Regions from separate parts of the Homo sapiens genome. Here region 1 is linked to region 2. The links are contacts of gene promoters, found by promoter capture Hi-C in human tissues and cell types (Jung and others, 2019). All regions are on one chromosome and are shown on one strand. The core of a region is centred on a gene start or on the middle of the fragment in contact, and the rest is flanking DNA. Distances in the headings are between cores, read along the strand shown. Region 1 overlaps MEIOB (meiosis specific with OB-fold). Region 2 holds the start of TSR3 (TSR3 ribosome maturation factor).

Region 1 (3,440 bases), core at 625-3,124, 480 kb before region 2:
CACCACTGCACTCCAGCCTGGGTGACAGAGTGAGACTGTGTCTCAAAAAAAAAAAAAAAGAAAAAGGAATTGGAAGAATAGATACATAGGCAGGCAATGCAAAATGCTGAATGGGTTTGCTTGTAGATGAACCTCTGGGCTCCTCTATAGGGCAGAAGCAGTGCATCTTCACTCAGACAGACTTCATGGGGATTCCATGAGCAGGGTCATTCGAATCACTGTCAGCTTTCTACAACCTAGTTCTAAAACAGCTCAGTCCGTGCAATGGGAGGTGTAGCCCCTGTAGAATCAGACAGCTCTGAACGTGTTCTAGCCAATGTCAGACTACCACAACATTCCATTGAAAGGGTACCCACTTATTGTTATTGCCCACTTAAAGTCTTTCCCAGTTTTCCCTGATGTTGGTACTTTTTTTTCTCTCAGTCTTGAAATTAAAGTGGTTGATATGTCCTTCCACTCTATATTAAATAAAATGTTGGTTAAAGTGCTGTATAAATTATAAAAAATAAGACTATTAAAATAAGACTATTATTAAATTATGTCATCATATTCCTGTAGTCTCACAGATTGAGTCCCTGCTACAGCTTAAAGTCTATCACAGTTGGTAGTTTGAACACACATTAAGCCCTTTTTCATATGTTATACTTTTTTTTTTTTTTGAGACACAGTCTCACTCTGCTCGCTCTGTCACACAGGCTGGAGCACGTGGTGCGATCACAGCTTACTGCAGCCTCAACCTTCCCAGGCTCAAGTGATCCTCCCGCCTCAGCCACCGAGTAGCTGGGACCACAGGTGTGCACCACCACACCTGGCTAATTTTTATATTTTTAGTAGAGACAGGGTTTCACTTTATTGGCCAGGCTGGTCTTGAACTTCAGGCCTCAAGTGATCTACCTGCCTTGGCCTCCCAAAGTGCTGGGATTACAGGCATGAGCCACCTCACCCAGCCCTGCATTAGACATTTTTTTTAGTGGGGGGGGGTGGGGGGGACAGAGTTTCGCTCTAGTTGCCCAAGCTGGAGTGCAATGGCACAATCTCTGCTCACTGCAACCTCTGCCTCCCGGGTTCAAGGGATTCTCCTGCCTCAGCCTTCTGAGTAGCTGGGATAACAGGTGTGTGCCACCATGCCCGGCTAATTTTTTGTATTTTTAGTAGAAATGGGAGTTTCACCATGTTAGCCAGGCTGGTCTCGAACTCCTGACCTCAGGTGATCCACCCGCCTTGGCCTCCCAAAGTGCTGGGATTACAGGCGTGAGCCACTGCACCAGCACCCGGCCACATTAGACTTTTAATCCCAACTTTCCTACCTGAGAGAAATAGCATGAAAAGTGACAAAATTTTTACAAAATCAGTCAGAAGCTGGGCCTGTAAATTAACTGTACTCCGAGACTGGAACTCTTCCCATCATCTTACAGCTCTAATGGAAGTTTATATTAGTATCTGTAAACAAAACTTTCATTGCAGTTCTCTATTCGTGATCATTGATTTTTCAACTTGATATACAAGGGGATTTTAAAAATTAACCTTTTGTCTCTTTTTCTGTTTCTCCTCGCAGTTCGTTCTATCACACAGAGCAAGGAGTGGATTGAAAATTAGTGTACTCTCGTGCAAGCTTGCAGATCCTACTGAGGCAAGCAGAAACTTGTCTGGACAAAAACATGTTTAAAACGGTCTATCATTTTGAACTCTGGAAAAGTATAAGAGTTTTAACTCCCTTTAAAATGGAATATTAATTTGAAAATTATGGGGAAAATTGCATTTTGTTTACATGTGGTGAACATGTTTCTAGAAATTGTTATGGTGGAGGTGGTCTGGGTGAGTCTGAAGGCCTCTCTCATCTGACCTCCCTTCTTAGAAGGCCTCCTACTGTCTTTGCCTTGTCTCCTCCCAAGTTGGAAAATGTTTACATGAATTAATAAACAGATTTAATCTTCTACAGATTTGAATGATTTATTTTCTTTTCCATGTAGTTGAACGGCTTTGAGTGAGTTTCTTAATCCTGAGTGAATGATTTATTTTCTTAAGCCAGTTTATTATTTGTCTTGGTTCCCTGGAAAAAGAGTAGGACCTCAAGGGCTGGGCACGGTGGCTCATGCCTGTAATCCCAGCACTTTGGGATGCCAAGGCAGTCAGGAGATCGAGACCATCCTGGCTAACACAGTGAAACCCCATCTCTACTAAAAATACAAAAAATTAGCTGGGTGTGGTGGCACGTGCCTGTTGTCCCAGCTACTCGGGAGGCTGAGGCAGGAGAATCTCTTGAACCTGGGATGAGGAGGTTGTAGTGAGCTGAGATCCAGCCACTGCACTCCAGCCTGGGCGACAGAGCGAGACTCTGTCTTAAAAAAAAAAAAAAAAAAAAAAAAAGTACCTCTAAAGACTACTTTCTGAGAGCTGGGTGGTGACTCGTCATCTGACAGATCTGACAGGATGAGGGCAAGGGGCTCTTGGTGCTGGGTGGGAATAGCCAAAGTCGTGGGCAATCCTGTGCGACTGCTTTGAGCACCTGGGGCTCTTCTAGTCCCTGGTCTTCTCTGGTGACACACTGGAGTGCCCAGTGCTTGTGGAGGCTTGCTGGCTCAGGGCTGACATGACTGAGTCTGAATCAACTGGGAGGAGACCAACTTCAAAAGGTTCATGAGCATGCCTGGGTCTCAGAACTCTGAGGGGGACCTACTCAGGACATGAGGACGACAGCTGCCACTTTATCTGTTTGCTTTGCAGCAGCCACAAAGTAAACGGCTCAACTGCACACCATTGAGAGTCACTTGCTTCAGGGCGCAGACTCCAGCTGTGAAGACCCACCGCTAAGGTCAGTGTTGACCCACGGCCTGGGAGGTTTGACCTGGTACTTTAGAAGGCTACATGCCCTCCACCACAGGATTGAAAAAAAAGGAAAAAGTGAGTATATGAAACTGTTTCCTAAGGCTGGTGTTGGGAGATAAACCATCGTCAGTCATGTTTTATCTGGCTTTTACCATGTGCAGCCACAGAGGAGGGATGCAGGTTCACCCCTAAGTGTCCAAATTGTGGTGATAAGGTAATGAACGACTTGACCTAGTTGTGCAGAACAGGCCTTCCATCCTCCCTTGGGGAGAACTGGGGGGTTTGTGAAGCCAGGTGAATGGGGAGGGTGGACAGGGAAGGAAGGAGAGGAGAGAAGTGAGGGTGTCGTGGTTGGTGCTGGCTTGGCTCCCACTGTTGGTTCAGCAAGAGTGGGTATGGTGCCCCCTCCACTGAGCCCCGTGTCCAGGAGCTCAGGAGAAGCCACCTTACTCGGTTAATTTTAAAACATTTTGTAGAGACAGTGATCTTGGCATTTTGCCCAGGCTGGTCTTGAATTCCTGGGCTCAAGTGATCCACCCACCTCGGCCTCCCAAAGTGCTGGGATTACAGGCGTGAGCCACCGTGCCCAGCTGACACTTATATTTTTAAGAAAA
Region 2 (3,765 bases), core at 1,122-3,621:
CAAGGCTGCCTCTCTCCTACTGGAAGGGGTTCGGTCGGGAACTGCGCTGTTACACAGTGGCCTGCCTCCTCCCCAGCTTCTTGGGATAGGTGGTGGCCCGACTCCAGCACTTCAGGCCCTGGGAAGCCACCATCCCATGGCTTCTGAGCCGCAGGGAAGTGAGCCTAACCCCAGGTGCGCCATCACGCCCAGCCACACAACAAAAAACTTAAAAAGATGTGTTTGGAGTCAAAGTCCACCAAACCTACCAACACGGTGCGGCACCATCTGATCCCCTTTATCTCTGATCTGTGGCTACCCCAGCTGAATCCCCTCTGGCCCTGGCTGTCCTGCTCAAGGCCTTTGGCCACTCCCTTTCCTGGATCCCTTTCCCCAAATAGCCACAGCTTTACTCCCTTTTCTCCTTTAGCTTTTGGCTGAAATGTCACTTCTTAGACTTTTCCTCAGCACCCTATTTAAAGCAATCCCCACCAAGACAGGAGGATTGCTTGACGCTGGGAGTTTGGGGCCAGCCTGGGCAACATAGTGAGACTTCCATCTCTACAAGAACACTTAACATTTGCCGGGCATGGTGGCGTGCACCTGTAGTCCCAGCTACTCAGGAAGCTGAGGTTGGTGGATTGCTTCAGCCCAGGAGTTCAAGGATGCAGTGAGCTATGATTGCACTACTGCACTCCAGCCCGAGTGAGAGAGCAAGACCCCGTCTCTAAAAAATAAAAAAAGCGATCCCCCAAACAATACTCTAACACACATACACACACTCCCTCCTCTGCTTCACACATCTACATGGCATTTTTCATCATTGGCCATTCTATGTATTTTATCTAATTCTACAGGCTCAGTGCCTGTTCCTCCATCCCTCCCCATTAGACTGTCAGCTCCATGAGGACAAGCATTGGTATATCTGTGTTCGTTTCTGCAACCCCAGCACAGACCCTAACACATAAAGGTATTCGATAATAAAATTACTAAAGCTGGGCGCGGTGGCTCACGCCTATAATCCCAGCACTTTTGGAGGCCGAGATGGGCGGATCACTTGAGGTCAGGAGTTCGAGACCCGCCTGGTCAATACGGTGAAATAAACCCTATCTCTACTAAAAATACAAAAATTTGCTGGGCGTGATGGTGATGCATGCCTGTGATCCCAGCTACTCGGGAGGCTGAGGCATGAGGATCGCTTGAACCTGGGAGGCGGAGGTTGCAGTGAGCCGAGATCGTGCCACTGCACTCCAGCCTGGGCGACAGAGCGAGACTCTTGTCTCAAAAAAAAAAAAAAAAAAATTCTTGGATTTTTGTCTATTATATTTAATACTCATTCAGCGTTTAAATGATATATATACTCATGACCCACCAATTCCACTTCTGGAATCCTGCACTGGGAAACCGCTCACCTGAGGGCAAACCAAAGCACCTACACAGCATGTTCTCCACAGAACTATTTCTAATGGCCAAAAAAATGGCAAGAACCTAAATACAATCGGGGAGTGCAGTGCCATCCTATCGCGTGCTGAGCACCAAGAGAAAGAACGAAGACCTATATCATCACCATGAAGCGTCCCGAGAGATACAGCGAGTGACAACGACAAATCAGCCAAATACTCGCGCAGCATGATTTTTTAAAAAAGCGATTAGATTACAAAAACTATACGTTTTCCAGTTGCATAGACACGCACGTAAAAGCACAGAAACGCGTCTGCAAAGTCACCAGACTATTAACAGCAGTTACCTCTCGGAAAGGAAAGGAAGGACTAAGTCTGGAGATAATTTAATTCGCTACAAGAACGTTCTGGTATATTCTCTCGTACTTCCACATTAATTTTAGAAGGCTGACAAACCAATGCTTTAGACTCCGGGCCGTAACTCTCAGGGTCACTCATCCATCCTCCACTGTTGCTGCTCCCCGCGGCCACCCCCGCGCCGGCCAACAGCGCTCCTCACTCACCAGACACGGGTGAAGGATCCCTCTTGGCCTGGAGGCGACTGGCCTGAGGCAAGAACGGGTTGTTCACCCTACGGGAAGCGGCAAGGTCAGCGGGGAACGGGCCCGGGCCGTCCCCCGCTCGAGCCGCCAGCCCGCGAGGCTGCTCACCCAAACGCGTTGGGCTCCTCCACCACCTTCATCTTCGCTGCACCTGCCGGCGCGGGCCCTACGGGGAGCGAGACCGTGAGCGGGGAGGCCGGGGTGCAGAGCGCGCGCGGGGCCTGGGGACGCGGACGGCCGGGCCACTCACCGCCGGCCGAGAGCCCGAGGAGCAACAGGAGCCGCGCCAGCCCCGCCGCCATCGCGCCGCAGCGGCCGCCGCGCGGTCACGTGAAGTGACGGTCACGTGACCACGGGGACCGGAAGTGGCGTCCGGCGCAAGCGCTGGCAGCCGCACAGCCCATTGGGAGGCCGAGGGGCGCGGCCGTGGGGTGGGGAGTCCCCGGCACCCCAGGTCCGCGCCATGGGCCGCAGGAGGGCAGCGCGCGGGCCGGGGGCGGAAGGCGGCCGCCCTCGGCACCTCCCGACGCGCTCCCTGGAGGCCTTCGCCGAGGAGGTCGGCGCCGCGCTGCAGGGTGAGCGAGGCGTGATGGGGAGAGCGGGTCAGGGTTTGAGGGCCTGCCCGGGGGTCCCACGCTGAGGCCGAGTGCCCTTCTCTCTCTCGTGCAGCTTCCGTGGAGCCAGGGGCGGCTGACGGCGAGGGCGGCCCGGGCCCGGCGGCGCTGCCCTGCACGCTGGCCATGTGGGAGTTGGGCCACTGCGACCCCCGGCGCTGCACGGGCCGCAAGCTGGCCCGCCTGGGGCTGGTGCGCTGCCTGCGCCTGGGCCACAGATTCGGCGGTCTGGTGCTGAGCCCCGTGGGCAAGCAGTACGCGTCCCCCGCAGACAGGTAGGCGCGGGAGGCCTGCCCGAGGTCGTCTTCATTTCCAGCGCGTGGTTCCCTTCAGGGATGGTTTAGTGGCACTTGTATGTCGCACCCACATCCACACCCACGTGGGCAGGGAACGTCTGTCTAGTTTGCCTCCGTTGCGTAGCGCAGAGCCTGGGATAAAGGAGGTTTTGGGGTAATAAACGTTTGTTGAGTGAATAAACACATGCTCCAGGTGCCCCAAGCAGCTGCCTCAAAAGCTTGCTCGTGAAGTCCGTTTGAGGGTGTTTGGGGATGGCGGAATGATGTCCCTGAATCCCTTAGCTAGGCCATTCTCCGGGGCATGCTCCACCTTGGGTAGTGCTGGCTCCTGAACTTATCCCATGCTGTCCCTGGCAGACAGCTGGTGGCGCAGTCTGGGGTCGCCGTCATCGACTGCTCCTGGGCCAGGCTGGACGAGACACCGTTTGGGAAGATGCGAGGGAGCCACTTGCGCCTGTTGCCCTACCTGGTGGCCGCCAACCCCGTGAACTATGGCCGGCCCTACAGACTTTCCTGCGTGGAAGCGTTTGCTGCCACCTTCTGCATCGTAGGTGAGTCCAGGGGCCCCACAGCAGTGTGACCCGGCGGCCTGCTGTTCCTGCTATGCTCCCAGCATCATGTTTCCTGCCGACAGACCCCAGGAGGAGCATAAGGGACGGACAGGGGAACAGTTCAGACAGACCACGGTTCCAGCCCCAACTGTCACTTCAGGTTTTCGGCCTGTGGAGTTGCAGTAGAGGCAGAATGGGATCGCTGTTCTATCAGGGCCGGTGTGTGGGGTGCCATTCATTATCAGGGCACCACTGCCCAGAGAATCCTCCTTATCCTCCACGTCCTCCTTACTGAATTGCTGATCTAAAGAGGCCCTGATGAG

The links. The method cuts DNA at HindIII sites, captures the fragments that hold promoters and counts their contacts. A contact is called where the count stands out against the background at its distance.
Region 1: a contact is called between a fragment that was not itself captured here and the fragment with the promoter of TSR3 in region 2, in 1 of the 25 tissues and cell types used here (dorsolateral prefrontal cortex).

Annotation. Positions count from the first base shown.
Region 1 is chr16:1,832,482-1,835,921 of GRCh38, reverse strand. It overlaps MEIOB (meiosis specific with OB-fold), which reads left to right. Exons shown (of 14, transcript NM_001163560.3): 14 at 1,556-1,936. The coding sequence ends at 1,666. It also overlaps a transcript of FAHD1 not described here. Among named protein-coding and RNA genes, the nearest start is that of FAHD1, 7.0 kb to the right of the region's middle. RefSeq lists a silencer at 2,780-3,074. The HindIII fragment of the contact is 8,140 bases long and covers 1-3,440 here.
Region 2 is chr16:1,350,484-1,354,248 of GRCh38, reverse strand. TSR3 (TSR3 ribosome maturation factor) reads left to right here and starts at 2,371. Exons shown (of 6, transcript NM_001001410.3): 1 at 2,371-2,556; 2 at 2,651-2,870; 3 at 3,249-3,442. The coding sequence starts at 2,445. GNPTG (N-acetylglucosamine-1-phosphate transferase subunit gamma) reads right to left here and starts at 2,318. Exons shown (of 11, transcript NM_032520.5): 1 at 2,232-2,318; 2 at 2,090-2,147; 3 at 1,943-2,010. The coding sequence starts at 2,283. RefSeq lists a silencer at 2,094-2,793. The HindIII fragment of the contact is 21,021 bases long and covers 1-3,765 here.